Regions from separate parts of the Homo sapiens genome. Here region 2 is linked to region 1. The links are contacts of gene promoters, found by promoter capture Hi-C in human tissues and cell types (Jung and others, 2019). All regions are on one chromosome and are shown on one strand. Each heading gives the region's core, a stretch centred on a gene start or on the middle of the fragment in contact. The rest is flanking DNA. Distances are from core to core; before and after follow the strand shown. Region 1 holds the start of PHF21B (PHD finger protein 21B). Region 2 overlaps PRR5-ARHGAP8 (PRR5-ARHGAP8 readthrough).

Region 1 (2,751 bases), core at 177-2,676:
CTTTCGTGGAGCTGCTTCTTGAGGTCGCCGTTCTGCGGAAACACGGAGGAGCGGGCTCAGGCAGGCCACCCGGGGTCAGGTGCACCCCAGCACCGCGGGCCGCGGCACCCCCCGCCCGGAGCCCCACGGGCGGGGCCGGCCGCAGCGCACCCCAAGTTTCCCGGGCCGCGTCCTGCACGCGCGGCGGCCGGGCAGTGCCGCGCGGGGCCGCTTACCTGTGGCTGCCGCCTCATCGGGGCAGCTCGCGGGGCGGGGCGGGGGCCGAGGCCACCCGGCGGCGCGCCCCGAGCCGTGCAAGTTTGCAGGCCGGGGTGCGTGTGCGAGTGAGTGTGAGTGTGAGTGTGTGCCGGGGGAGGGGGGAGGAACAAAGAGCCAAGTAAACACGGCGAGTCCGTGTCGAGCAAAGCTCATAAATATTCAAGTCGCGTCCTAATCTCCCCAACACACACACGCGCACGCCGAGCCCCGCTCAGGCTCCGGCCGCCACGCCGCCGCTCGCCAGCAGCGATCGCCAAAACTACTTCTGCACACCGGGCAGGTTCGCCCGGGGCGCGGGGGCCCGAGGGGAGGCCGGAAGGGGGCCTATTCGCACTCCCCTCCCCGGGACCGGCTCACGAAGGGGCCCCCTCCAGGCACCCTCCCAGTCATGCAGACCCTACATCGCTTAAGAGAAGACTCCAGGCTCGGGTCCCACGCGTCCTCGATCCCGCAAACTGTGCAGGACAGCGCCAGGGGCAGGCGGAGGGGAGCCCAGAAGGGGGTCCGCGCGTGTGCTCACTCCCTCGCCCCCCGCCCCCGGGCAGGCTCCAGCCTGGAAGACCCAGAGACCCGGAAGAGAGGATGCTGGGCTCGGGTCCCCCGACCCCCTCACCCCGCAACACACTCCCCGGCCCCGGGCCCGGCCCCCGGCCACCTACCTGGTGGCGCGCGAGTTCCACGGCGAGCGCCTCGGGCCGGCTCTGCAGCTCCATCCCGGCAACTTGGGCAGCACTTTGCGCTCACTTTGGCCCGGGCTCCCGGGAAGTTGCGCGGCTCCGCGGGGGCCAGAGCGGGCGCGGGCGGACGCGGCCTCCGGGCTGGGTTGGGGGGGACACGAGCCCCCTCCCCCACGGCCGAAAGGGAAGGGGGCTGGCGAAGGGGAAGACAGGCTTCCGGGCGCCGCGGCGCCGAGCCCTCGGCTGCCCCAACTCCTCAGGCTGCCCGGCAAGTTGCGCCGGGTCCCCGGGCTGCCGGCGCGGCCCGGAGCATGGCCCCCCCGGCGCCGGGAGCCCCGCGCAGCCCCGCGCGCGCCCGCCCAGCCGCCGCCGCCGCCGCCTCCTCCCGCGCGAGCCTCCCGCGGGCAGGGACTATATTTCCTCCGGCGCGCGCGCCTGGATCTCGTTGGGCCTCGGCAAAGTTGTGCCTCGGCACGATGCTAATTCGGCAGTGCCCGGATGGAGCGGGCCGGGGCGGCGGGGGGCGGTGCCGGGACCCTCAGCCCGCCGCGCCCCGCCCCCGCCCCGCCCGCGCCTGCGCACTGCCGCCCCGCCGCGGCCCGGCACCCCGAGCGGAGAACAAAAGTGGCGGTGGACGGGGACGCACGGTCGCCGGCTCCGGGGACTGCTCGGGCCGGGCGCTCGGAGAGGACGACTGCGGAGTCATCCTCTCCGTCCCCGGGCCAACCCGGGGAACGCGGCGCCCCCACCCCCTGCGCCGTGTAACGCCGGGATCAGGACACTTTCCGCTGGGAGGCTGCGAGTCCGTGTTTCCATTTCTCCTCACCCTGGTCCTCGGCTCCCTCCTTTCCCCCCTCCTCCGCCTCCCTCTGATATTTTATTTAAATTCTTCCGTCCCCTCCTGTCCATACCAGCGCCGCGACTTGGGGGATTAAATTAGTCGCGTCGCCACATTCCCCCGCCGCCTGATGGCCTCCGTGTTGTTTAAACAGCAAGAAAATTGATCTCTTGGCTCTTCCTTTAATGATTTTTTTTTACACGATTAAACTCTCAACAGATGTCACTGGACATTTTAAGACTCTTGTTAAGAGTCGTAAACAGGCCCGGTCAATGCGACCTAAAACAATTATAATTACAGCTGCGGAGGTCGCGTTTCAGAACCCCCAGCCGCGCAGCCAGGAGGTTAATGTCCCAGAGTCACTGTCACCACCTCGGGGCTGCCATCTTCATTCAGGTCGGAGTGCCGGGTGCCCTGTTGGCAGCAAACTGGCACGTTTGAAACACGCTGGGGAGAAAGGGTGCAATCATATGTCAAAGTAAACGTTTAAGCTGTTAAGTCGTTTTAACTTCAGATTCCTCTCCGGCAGCACAAAAAATACCCAAGCAAGCACCATCAGCAAATGTCCCTTTCAACATATGCCAACAGGTCACACATTGCTTTTGTTGGCAGAAGTTATTGGAATTCCCCCTTTTCTTTCTTTTCTTTTTTTTTTTTTTTTCAAGTGAGGACCCCAGTGTTGTTCTGCTCTCTGTTAGGGAATTTGTAATAAATTACGTGTTTGGGACCCCCAAACACAGATGGCCCCTCATCCCACAACCCAGCACCTCGCCTTCAGAGCACGACAGAGTGAGACTTAGGATATGAGTAACTATGCAAAAAGCAGAGGGGCATGTAGATGACCCTTACTTTAACCCAAATTAGTTAACAGAAACTTGCAAACAGCGCTTTAAGACTCCATAGGAGGCCGGCCGGGGGCGGTGGCTCACACCTGTAATCCCAGTACTTTGGGAGGCCGAAGTGGGCAGATCACGAGGT
Region 2 (2,751 bases), core at 65-2,564, 160 kb before region 1:
GTGGCATCAGTGAGCAGATGTGCTGGGCGGGGGCCTGGGAGACCATCTCCCTCAAACCCCAGACCCTGCGGCCCCAGCATTTCCCTCAGTCACGATGCTCAGCTGGCAGGTGAGCAGGTACGGGGGGCACCCCACACTGGGACCCCAAGAGGCCTGCCTGTCCCCGGCCTGGACTGCCCCTCCTTGCCCTCTACCGGTTAGGTCCTGCTTTCCGGAAGCCCTCTCCAATTCTGCCCCTCTCCCAGGCAGAACTGCCTTCTTCACGCCTCCCCATCATTCACTCATTCACTTGGGAGGCATTCGCTACGTGCCTCCCTCGTGCCAGACTCTGGGGATATCAAAGTGAGCACACGGGATGGGGAAGCAGCAGCTATTCCACCGAGAGCTGCCCAGATGCTGACTTCCATCAGGGAGAAGGCCCTGCCAGACCGGGGTCCCTGTTAGGGGGGTTGACCTTGTTGGGGGGCTTCCCTGAGGGAGGGGCAGTGGAGCTGAGCTCTGAGGACGGGGAGAAGCTGGCCATGCCGTGTGACAGAAAGGCCCCAGAGAGGAGAGCAGGTGAAGGGGCTCGTGGCTGTGGGAGTGCGGGAGCGTGCGGGGCTTCGAGGAAGTTGGGAGGAGAAGGGGAGGTCAGGCCTTGCAAGTCCCAAGAAGACTTGCACCTCCAGATGCCTGCGCCACAGTCCTAGGTCCTGGTGTTCCGGGGCACCCCCATCATGCACCGCAGGCCCCCCAAGGGCAGGCTCAGGCCTGTTTCTCTTTCTGGCTCTGAAGCCAGCAGGGGCCTGGCCAGAGGGAGCCCTTCCCTCTACCCCACAGCTGCTTTCATGAGCCAATTACAAGCACTGAAAATGCTCTTTATAAACTGACAATGGAGACAAGTTTTCTTCTTTGATTACAATCACCTCTTTAGCAGAATTGCCCAACTGAACTTGGACATCATCTATATCTTCACTGTCTAAACAGCAGCCACCAGCCCCTGTGGCAGTAGCTCAATAGGGCAGTTCATATGAGGCTCATGCAATTGAGTGACTAGATTTCTAATTTTATTTAATTTTAATTAAAGTTAAATCCCCATGTGCAGCTACTGGCTGCTGTGCTGGACAGCTCAGCCCTAGCTCTTGTGGGAAGTCACGTGTCTGGACGTCTCCCAGGTGCCAGGCACTTGCTGGGCATCACCGTGTCCAGTCCTCTCTGCAGCCCTTGGAGACAGGAGCTCATGGCCTTATTCTGTAGATAAACAAGGCAGATAGGCTCAGAGAGGCCGAGAGCTTTCTCTGAGGTCACACAGCTGGTAGGCAGAGCTGGACTAGAGCCTAGGTCTGTCTGAGATTAGAGTCTATTTCCGCTTTCCCTTTCCATGGACCACAGAGGTGGGAAATCGGGTGGGTTGGGGAATATGGAAAGGATTTGAGGAACAAATAAATGTGTGGAGGCCAGCCACAGGTGGGTGATGCCGTGGGCAGGGGAGTGTCATATAATGTCCTGGAAGCCCTTTGGGCTGGGACCTGTGAGATGCCTGGAAGCTCCTCTCCTGCAGGCCTGCGCACCGAGGGCCTGTTCCGGAGATCCGCCAGCGTGCAGACCGTCCGCGAGATCCAGAGGCTCTACAACCAAGGTGAGGGTGTCCCGCAGTCCTGAGCCCCGAGCTGCCTGGTCAGCGAGCACAGCGCTCCGGGGCCTCAGAGCGGAGGCAGGGAAGCACCGCCCCCGCAACCCACCCAACTCCCAGAAAACACTCAGGGTGGGGGCAGCTTCCCAGGAGGCATCGAGGGGCCCACTGGTAGTCCAGAGTGGGGACCTTTTGTCCAGACCCCCAACCCCACTGGGACATGGTGGCCGCATGATGCCATTTTGCCTTTAGGGTCTCTCCATCCACACCACGTGGCACGTGCTTTCAGGAGACACCCTGCAGTGCAGGGAAGCTGGTTTTTTTTATCTGGCAGCTCCCCCGAATTGGCTCAGCACGGCTTCCTTAACTGCCATGTGTAACCCGCAGGCAGGGGCAGTGGCCTCTGAGCTGAGGATGCATTGCACTGACGCTAATGAAGGCGCTGTCTTGCTGACAAGACTTGCCCTCGCTCCCACTCGCTCCCGTCATCAGTTGTGCATTACACAATCATGGAGCATCAGGTCTGCACGGGGCCCAGCTCAGGCCTGCCTGTCTCAGGCCCAGGGCCTGCGGTGTCATCTCTGCCACAGACCTGGCCTCAGAGAGCTGGCATTGTAGCCGGGAGCAACAGCATGCCACAGAGAAGCCAGCAGCCCACCCCAGTCCCCACTGGGAGCCCGGGAGGAGGCAGTTAGGGTAGTGTAGGGGCTGATGGGGCCAGAGCACACCCATTTCTAGGTGGGGACAGCATCATCCCTAGGACACATGGCTCCAGCATCAGGTGCGTCCCATCCGGACATCTCACGCCCTGTGTCTCAGAGCTCGTTCTGCAGCGGCAGTGCCCAGGCCGGGGTGCAGACCTCAGCAGTGCTGTGTTGTGTGTGCAGGGAAGCCCGTGAACTTTGACGACTACGGGGACATTCACATCCCTGCCGTGATCCTGAAGACCTTCCTGCGAGAGCTGCCCCAGCCGCTTCTGACCTTCCAGGCCTACGAGCAGATTCTCGGGATCACCTGTGCGTAGCTGCCCTGGCGCAGGGGTGGGGGGCTTGGTCCTCAGATGCTGTCCCCCAGCTACTGGCCCAGGGTCAGGCTCTGGGGTGGCCGAGGTGACGTGTACCCACCCTCCTCCTGTTGCC

Evidence for each region. The method cuts DNA at HindIII sites, captures the fragments that hold promoters and counts their contacts. A contact is called where the count stands out against the background at its distance.
Region 2: a fragment that was not itself captured here is called in contact with the fragment with the promoter of PHF21B in region 1 in 1 of the 25 tissues and cell types used here (stomach).

Annotation. Positions count from the first base shown.
Region 1 is chr22:45,008,579-45,011,329 of GRCh38, forward strand. PHF21B (PHD finger protein 21B) reads right to left here and starts at 1,427. Exons shown (of 13, transcript NM_138415.5): 1 at 918-1,427; 2 at 1-32. The coding sequence starts at 971. RefSeq lists an enhancer at 1-407. The HindIII fragment of the contact is 18,572 bases long and covers 1-2,751 here.
Region 2 is chr22:44,846,433-44,849,183 of GRCh38, forward strand. It overlaps PRR5-ARHGAP8 (PRR5-ARHGAP8 readthrough), which reads left to right. Exons shown (of 15, transcript NM_181334.6): 12 at 1,541-1,618; 13 at 2,500-2,628. It overlaps ARHGAP8 (Rho GTPase activating protein 8), which reads left to right. Exons shown (of 12, transcript NM_181335.3): 9 at 1,541-1,618; 10 at 2,500-2,628. Among named protein-coding and RNA genes, the nearest start is that of ARHGAP8, 95 kb to the left of the region's middle. The HindIII fragment of the contact is 5,670 bases long and covers 1-2,751 here.